Linked DNA regions of Homo sapiens: all the other regions are linked to region 2. Evidence: promoter capture Hi-C in 16 types of primary human blood cells and fetal thymus (Javierre and others, 2016). All regions are on one chromosome and are shown on one strand. The core of a region is centred on a gene start or on the middle of the fragment in contact, and the rest is flanking DNA. Distances in the headings are between cores, read along the strand shown.

Evidence for each region. Contacts are between HindIII fragments. The CHiCAGO score rates a contact against its expected background, and 5 or more counts as called.
Region 1: a fragment that was not itself captured here is called in contact with the fragment with the promoter of LYZL4 in region 2 in 1 of 17 cell types (naive CD4 T cells); the score reaches 5.2 in naive CD4 T cells.
Region 3: a fragment that was not itself captured here is called in contact with the fragment with the promoter of LYZL4 in region 2 in 2 of 17 cell types (naive CD8 T cells and M2 macrophages); the score reaches 5.8 in naive CD8 T cells.

Annotation. Positions count from the first base shown.
Region 1 is chr3:42,232,021-42,235,232 of GRCh38, forward strand. No RefSeq gene overlaps it. Among named protein-coding and RNA genes, the nearest start is that of CCK, 33 kb to the right of the region's middle. The HindIII fragment of the contact is 2,505 bases long and covers 671-3,175 here.
Region 2 is chr3:42,409,132-42,412,065 of GRCh38, forward strand. LYZL4 (lysozyme like 4) reads right to left here and starts at 1,479. Exons shown (of 5, transcript NM_144634.4): 1 at 1,286-1,479. The HindIII fragment of the contact is 15,012 bases long and covers 1-2,934 here.
Region 3 is chr3:42,271,294-42,274,313 of GRCh38, forward strand. No RefSeq gene overlaps it. Among named protein-coding and RNA genes, the nearest start is that of CCK, 6.6 kb to the left of the region's middle. The HindIII fragment of the contact is 1,743 bases long and covers 453-2,195 here.

The sequences.
Region 1 (3,212 bases), core at 673-3,172, 180 kb before region 2:
AAAGCCAGGCACAGTGGCTCACACCTGTAATCCCAGCACTTTTGGGAGGCCAAGGCTGGTGGATCACCTAAGGTCAGGGAATTTGAGACCAGCCTGACCAACATTGTGAAACCTTGTCTCTACTAAAAATACAAAATTAGCCGGGCCTGGTAGCGTATGCCTGTAATCTCAGCTACTTGGGAGGCTGAGGCAGGAGAATCGCTTGAACCTGGGAGGCAGAGGTTGCAGTGAGTGAGATTGTGCCATTGTGCTCCAGTCTGGGCAATAAGAGTGAAACTCCGTCTCAAAAAAAAAAAAAAATTACCTTTTAAAAATATGAGAACAAACAGGGAAATATAAAAGAATTATGAGGTTAGTACGTATTATTCATTGAAAGTGTACCTAGAGCATTTAATACAGATTCACTATTATACTCCTGTCATTCTGCAGTTATAACTAAACAAAAAGTTACAAGTGAAGCCGTGATTTTTTATATTACATACATACTCTCACTTTGAATATATATCAATATTGAAGTTTTATTTTTTCTTTTATTTTCTTTTTTAATTATAGCAAATATTGCCTGATACAATATTCAAGTTTTTAATGTGATAAATGAGGATTGGATTCTTTTAATTTATCTCAGCTAGTTCAGATTAACAATAGTGTTATTTGCAGGGGATAACATATAAGCTTGTGTTTTCTTTTAATAACACTCACAATAGAGAAACCAGCCTCAGAGAGAGATGTTGGTTGGAAAGGAAGATAAGACATTTAAAGTAATTTTTTGGCCAAAATTTTTCTATGAGGCTTTGTTTTACAATCTGTAAAGTCTGGCTAACAAATGAACAATACAAATTTTATATCTCCAACTTAGATAATAATATTAAACTATAAATTTTTAAAAACTTGATTAGAATTAACTTGATGGTAAAAGTAACAAGTTAGAAAAATAAAGAAATGCTTGGGCAGGCGCAGTAGCTCACGCCTGTAATCCCAGCACTTTGGGAGGCCAAGACGGGCGGATCACCTGAGGTCAGGAGTTCGAGACCAGCCTGGCCAAAATGGCAAAACCCCGTCTCTACTAAAAATACAAAAATTAGCCGGGTCTGATGGTGGGCGCCTGTAATCCTAGCTACTCAGGAGGCTGAGGCAGGAGAATCGCTTGAACCCTGGAGGTGGAGGTTGCAGTGAGCAGAGATCGCGCCACTGTACTCCAGCCTGGGAAACAGGGCGAGACTCAGTCTCAAAAAAAAAAAAAAAAGAAAAAAAAGAAATGCTTACATTTGCTCAGATTTTTATATGCTTTTGACTTACGGTTGACAAACTAACCTTAAAATCTCATGGGTTGTAATGTGGTCCTCCTGCCTGTGGTCAGTTTGCTGCCTGTCCACCCAAAACTCACCATTAGAGTGCAATGACACTTGAATGGTCCACACCATTGGCATGTACTTGGACAACGTGGCAATGCAAATTGCTTGAAAAGTAACCATTTACTCTCAGTTTCTGTTCTTATTTCATCAGGGACAGTTTGTGGACTGGCATGAGCCATAGGCCACCCTTTAAGGAGGATGTCTATGGTAAAAGGCACTTTTCACTAGACCTAATAAACTTCCAGTTGCTAAATGAGGAAGTTTTTTTTTTTTTTTTTGACAGAGTCTTGCTTTGTTGCCCAGGCTGGAGTGCAGTGGCGAGATCTCAGCTCACTGCAACCTCCGCCTCCTGGGTTCAAGTGATTCTCCTGCCTCAGCCTCCTGAGTAGCTGGGACTACAGGTGCATGCCACCACACCTGCCTAATTTTTGTATTATTTTTAGTAGAGATGGGTTTCACCATGTTGGCCATGCTAGTCTTGAACTCCTGACCTCAAATGATCTGCCCACCTTGGCCTCCCAAAGTGCTGGGATTACAGGCATGAACCACTGTGCCCAGCCCAATGAGGAAACTTTTAAAAAATAATTTGTCATTTTTGCTTTTAGCAAATCACCCTCACGGCGCAGAGGAGTGGGAAGAAGGTGATGCCTTGGAATGGGCCCCTTCGGCTCCTGTCTTCCTCAGAACCATGCCGTCTCAGCTGTTTCCTGTTACCTGGTACCCGGTTCCAGGTAAACAGACTCCTTCACATCTGTGACCTCCACCAACAAGAATCCTCTACCTCACATCTGACCAAACCTGGCTGGTCCCTAAGAACCCTGCTGTGGGACAGATTCTTCCTCCACATGTTCCTGAGGGCTCTGGTCCTTTTTGCTATTGCAGCCTTTGGCGTGCTCCTCTTCCGTTATCCTCTTTCAAAACCCCTGCCCTGTTGAAGTTCACGTTTCCCAACTGCTACCCTCAACCTCCCTCCCTCAGCTTCTTGGAGGTTCCCTTAATTCTTTGCTATGTCAACTCTGAACTCTTTGTCCTTTTCACCATCTTAAGTCTTTCTGTCACCTGGACAACTTCAGCCACCCATGAAGGATGACCCATTTGGCTCTGGGCTCCCAGTTCCTCTACTTCCTCATCTCTTTTGGCCTTCATCACCCTTCCATTTCTGATGAGCTCTCCCAAAGCCATATCCTTGAACTTACCACCTGAAATCACTCAACTTCTGAAATTTAAAAATCAGTTACCCCACTCTTTCACCACAACCTCTTGGCACCTGGCTCTCTCAGTCAGAGCATTCCCCCTGTGTTCTTAGACCTCACAGAAACATCTAGTCCCCTGCCTCCTCTGCTTTTCTAATTTGCCATCAACTGTGCCCCCCCATCCCCACAATCTTCTTACTTTTTCTTCTATCCAGCCTAGACTGTGCCCTATAATTTCAATACTTTAGTTCCTAAGTTTTATGGTCCACTGTTGCACTCAATTCTGGATCATTCAACTGTTCACCTTCTTTTTTCCAGACCAAACCAGGACTGCTGGCTTCCAGTGAAAACAGTAAGTGTGACTGCCACAACCATGAGTGCCAAATTTATAGTTTCCCACCTCAGCCAGGCCTTCAATGAAGCCAGGTGATCCTATGTTTCTCCAGTCAGCTCTCTCTCGTTCTCTATGGGCACGATCTCAAACCTTCCTCATTCCTCACTTTCTGCTCCATCTCTCTCTCTCTCTCTCTCTCTCACTCTCACTCTCAACAAAATGTATTTGCCCTCTTTCCTAAAGAAAGCAGAAGCATCACACAGGAATTCTTCCAACTTTCTGGGATCAAGCCTGTAAGCTTGCTACGGGCTCACTCATTGCTTTCTCTGTCCT
Region 2 (2,934 bases), core at 229-2,728:
TTACCCCTCAGTGGCTGAGATATCAGTGATCCCAGCAGTAATCTTAGACAAATTGCTCAACCTCTTGATTCCTCAGTTTCCTCATCTGTAACACAGATTAAAACAGTACTTAATTAATTGTGTTGATTTGAAGAGTAAGTGAATTAAATATGCACAGCACTAGATTTTACTTGTATGGACATTTTTCTTAGCTCTGGTTGCACCCCTGCCCTTTTATACTGATGTATCAAACCTGTACATTGTGCACATGTACCCTGGAACTTAAATTATAATAATTAAAAAAAGTGAATCTCAATGCATGTTTCATTTCCCAACAGAGCAAACAACATTTTCTGGTAATGTCTGTCTTCCACAGGGCAGGCATCATCTCAACTCGTAGAAGGCATACTGAGTCCTCTCCTCCCCTCTCCCCCAGAAGCCAGTTCATCAGGTTCATCAGGGTGTGCCATCTACAGTTCTTCCAGAACCTATTCGCCTCTCATCTTTTCTGCCATCATCCTAATCCAGACCACCATCACCTCTAAGGTGGAGACTTTCTAACTACACTCCTCTACTACATACTCCTCTCTGTTCCCCTAAACCCACTGCCCACACAGCAGTTGGAAAGGCATTTTATAAAGCATGTGTCCAGTCACATCACTAATCTCCAGTGGATTCCCCTTGCACTTTGAATAAGGTCCCAACTCCTCAACCTGGCTGACAAGACTTTCTGATGCAGCCACTGAGCACCTCTCCAGTCTGAATTTACATCACTCTCTCCTTTGTTCACCTTCACTCTGCCATAGTCACCTTGCACATTTCTTTTCCTTGAATATGCCAATTTCATTCCCACCACAGGTCCTTTGCACCAGCCATTCCTTCTACCTGGAACATGACTGCCCTGACCACCACATACGAGCTCACTACCTCAAAGAAGATTCCTTGATCACTGCCCCATCAAAGAAGACGGTCTTTATTTTCTTCATACCATTAATCAATATCAGGAATTCCATTGCTCATTTATCTGTTCACTTGCTTATTTTCTCTCTCCCATACCTGAGTGTAAGCACCAGGAATGCAGAAACCTGGTCTGGTTTTTTCTCTTCATTATCCCCAGAACTCAGAACAGAACCTAATACAGAGTAGGTGCTCAATGAAACTTTGTTGAATGAATGAATGAACAAAAACCTCCTCTTCCCAACTGAACTGTCATCAAATAAGCAATAAGTGAATTTGCTGATGAGCTTCTCCTGCAGCTGGGTATTGTCATGCCCGTTACCCTCCTGCCCACCATATACCCGCCTACCAGTCCACCAGCCCTTCCAAAGGCTGGCTTTTGGTGCCTTTCCAAGGGGAGGGGAAGAACAGCCACTGCAGCAGCTTCGACGTGTGTTGCAGGGAAGTTGCTCCACCTACATTTGGTTCCTTGGGTTTTTCAGATGCTACTTCATTAATCATCCACTTGTCTGCACCCAAGAGTTCTCCATGACATGCTCTTCTAGAATCCTTTCTATGACATCAGTTGCTATGCACCAGGATATTCTGAAAAAGGGAGGGTCTGTCACTGTCACATTTGTATTAGTTTTCTATTGCTGCTGAAATACATTACCACAAATTTAGTGGCTTAAACAACACAATTTATTATCTTAAAGTTCTATAGCCCTGAAGTCAGAAATGGGTCTCACAGGCCTAAAATTAAGGTGTCAGCAGGGCTGTGCTCCTTCCCAAAGGCTTTAGAAGAGGATTCATTCCCTTGCTCATTGAGGTTGTTGGCAGAATAAAGTTTCTGCAGTCACAGGGCTGAGTTCCCTGTTTCCTTGCTGGCTGTCGGCTAAGGGCCATTCCCAGCTGCTAAGCACTGTCTGCATTTCTTAGCTCTGTTGCCTTCCTCTATCTTCAAAGCCAGCAAGGGTGAGTCAAACCCTCTCACACTTTGAATTTCTCTTGCCTCTTCTTCTGTCATTGTATCTTTCTGACCCTCTTTTCTTCCTCCCCTTCCCTGTCTAAGGACTCATGATTAGATTGGTCCAGCCGGACCATCCAGGATAACCTCTGCTTCTCAAAGTCTTTAACCTTAAACACATCTGCAAAGTCTCTTTTGCCATGCAAACTAACACATTCAGAGGTTCCAGGGGTGAGTGTTACCGAACAAAAGTGATTCAATGCATTGGAAGCCAACGCTATGACACTGGGTGTTTGAGAAAAGGCTTTTTATTGAAATATAAATATTTAATTTTAAATATATAATCAATATATTGTCGATTTTCAAGGAGACAGCAGTGTCAACCTCAAATCTGTCTCCTGTGATGCAGTATTTTTATTAGAAAAAGTTTAGGGGATTCTAAGATTAGTAGGTGATTTGGTGGAAGAAAGGGAAGGGCTGGAAAGTCCTGGGTCATATGCAGTTATCTCTTCATACTATTTTATGGGTCCCCTGGGCAATTATGGGGAAAGTTAGTATAAAGCACATGGTGGAAATTTAGTCTGTGACATCAGCAAGCTGGTTCTGCCTAGACTCTGGTCGGCCATCTTGGTTCCAGCTGATTTCAGCCAGTTCTTATATCTCATAAGCAGAGGGAGTTTCAGTATTTCAGCAAGTTGTTTCTTTTCTTACCTGCCATCCTGCAAACTCAAGAATTTCTGTTAGTCATTGGTTTTTTTAACTCTTTGGGGCATGGCTTCATTAGGACACCTTTGGGAGATCAGTATTCTGCCTGCTACAGCATTCTTCCGGGCCCTCATAGGACTGCCTTCTAGGTGGAACAGTGGGAGAAGCCCTTATGTAGCTTTCCTAGTCACCAGAGGGCCATGGTCAAAGACATCCTCTCTTGGGGCCTGGGCATCTTCATCTGTGACTTGAGGGCATCAGACTGGGTTATCTTTAAGGTCCTTTTCAGCTCCAAAAGTTAAGAGATATTGAGATGATTGAGGGCAAATTGGCCTTTTGAAAACACA
Region 3 (3,020 bases), core at 74-2,573, 140 kb before region 2:
TCAAGGGGAGAGTTAAGCCTAGAGACTGAGCCATGCAACACTGCCTTTCTTTTTCCTGAAACAAACATCTACAGAGAAGCAGACGGCTGAGGTGGGAATAGCTACAGGTGAGGGAACATAAAAGGTACATTAACAGAGATTGTGTCACTGTCACCTCAGGATGCTATAACAAAATACCACAGACTGGGTGGCTTAAACAACAGACACAACCCTGTGTTTTCATAGCTTTATACATAAGCCAGGTTCCCACAATGATGAACGGCCTTCCACCTCTCTGGATGGTCACCCTCACAAATTGCTCACAAGGGAATTCCTTGCAGGTCTCTAAATCATTCAAGACACATATCCCCCTGTAAAACAAGCACACACCAATTGTAACTTTAGGTCTGTAAGCCAAGTTTAACTCCTAAAACTGAGCTCTCTTCAATTTTATCCTGACAATGTCGTTTATAAGCTTATCTTCCCAGGTACAAATGAAATGGCTTGGCTGTGTCCCCATCCACATCTCATCTTGAATTCCCACATGTTGTTGGAGGGACCCAGTGGGGGGTAATTGAATTATGGGGGCAGGTCTTTCTCATGCTGTTCTTGTGATTGAGAATAAGTCTCATGAGATCTGATGGTTTTATAAGGTTGATTTTCCCTGCACAAGCTCTCCCTTTGCTTGCTGCCATCCATGTAAGATGTGACTTGCTCCTCCTTGCCTTCTGCCATGATTGTGAGGCCTCCCCAGCCATGTGTAAGTGCATTAAACCCTTTTTCCTGTATAAATTACCCAGTCTTGGGTATGTCTTTATCAGTAGGGTGAAAGTGGACTAATACACAAGGACAAGATAAGATCAATCACTTTTCTGCCTGCCCTGAGATGGCTGCATCATCAACTTTTTCCCATACTCCCTCTTTTCAGATGTTTACCTTATGTAGAGTGTAGATTATTTGAGCATCAATCAGAGCCTCAGAAGTAGATAGCTGTTTGCCTCACTGCCTACACCCTTCCCTTCTTTTCTCCTGCTTGCTCCTTCCCTTTAAATACTGAGTTTCCTGGAAAGGACAGGTTGCAGATGCTTCTGTGGCTTGTGTTTTTCCCAGGTGCATCCTCACACTTTGGCTCAATAAACCTGTACTGGGATTTAGACACTTGCCACAGTCACTCACTTTTTGGTTAACAGTTTCAACATATGAATTTGGGGAGACACAAACATTCCGCCCATAACAGAGTAAAACATCCCTGTAAATTAACATTTTATTTGTTCACTGGCATTTCTATAAGGTTGGTGGAATAAAGGAATCCTAAATCTGGGGTGGACCTTGAGGACCCTCTTGTTCAAGGGTCACAAATTCCAACACCACCCAAGGGAGTGAAGAGGGCTGTGGGTGAGAAGAGCAAGAGAAAAAGCACAGAGATCATGGGCAAGTGAAGCTATGGGTGGTGGTTAACCTCCTGGGGCACTCTAGGGGCCAGAGCAGAACGTGGGCCTCAGAGCCATCTCACCCTAGGGTGCGAAGGTGCGTGCATGTCTATACATCAACTCCACTCACTCACTGGCTAAGGGAAGCTCCTGGGGCATTCATTCCCTAGCACTTCTGGCCCACTGAGGATCCAGCCCCCAATGGAAGCCTTCAGAGAAGAGGTGCAGATGCTGGTGACCAGAAGCTGGGCCTGCAAGCACCATGATAGTGAGGCCCGAGGGAATATGAGTGGGGCAGCCACGGAGCCACTACACTCTCCTAACACTTTGCATGTACTCAATGTTAGCATTTACCATATTGTATCTTAATTTCCTACAATAGGGCTTGGGACATAGCTGCTCAATGAATATTTGTTGAATGAACTCTTCATCTGTATGAACGTCTCATCTGCCATCTGACATGCAGGAAAGCAGGAATTGTGATTTATTCACTCAAATGCAAGAATTGTGCTGGACACATGCTAAGTGACCAATAAATGTTCACCAAATTCAGCTGTTAGTTTCATCAGTTTAGTTGACTGGACTTACAAGATGGATAGCTATGAATTAAAAGCCATTTGCTGACCCTTGGTTGGATTGTGGACTCCCAATTAGCCACAGGAATTGTTCTTAGCACCATTTCATTTAGCCAGGGTTAGAAAAGCCACCAGAAATGGGAGATCACCTCGTGAATGGATGACAGGAATGAGAGGTCAGATCCCAGCTGATTGAGCTCTCTGCAGAAGAAGCTTTCCTTTTGCTTTTCAAACTAATATTGAAAAGCCAAAAGAGGAACCGTAGTTGCCAGGGAAACCAGCCACCAGTGTCCTCAGGCCTGTTGCTTAGTTCACTTTCTTTTGAGGAAGGTTTAGAAGAGGCCTCCATGGCTCTCCTTGGGAAGTGTTAGCAAACAGTGAGACTTGAAGTACTTGAAGGGCAGTCTGGGAGTCTTTGTGGTCCTGCTGATCCAGCTTCTCTCTGAAGCTGAGGTCCCCTCACAGCAGAGGGCAAGTCTGTGTCCTCTGGAATGGTCCCAGCCCCCAGCAGAGACATCTCCTACCTTACCAACCTGCCTGGTGCCTGCATGGTGGCCATGGGCCCTCCGTTGAACTAAGGCTTTGGGACACAGCTGTTCCAGGACAACCTTATCAGAAAAGGCTCATAGTTTTAAAATTTAAAATAAAATGGTTTGAATAAGTATTAAGTGCATATAATTCAAAATTTAAAAGGTGCAAAGGGGTATATAGTGAAAATCAATTTTTCCCCTCACTCTTCTTCCTCCACCATGCAGAGGCAAGGAGTGCTTTAGCGTTTAGTAAATTCTTCCAGATAAAGTCAATGCACATACAAGCACATCAATAAGTATCAAAGAAATACACACACACACACACACACACACACACACACAGTCTCCAAATGGAAGCATAAAATACAAAATGTTCTCTATTTTACTTTTTTCACTTAAAATATGTATTTGAGTTAGGTCAGTTTATACTGTTAGCATAATTCTACCTCAATATCTGTAAACTATTCCATTGTATGGGTGTACCTGAATTCATCTAGCCAGGGCCC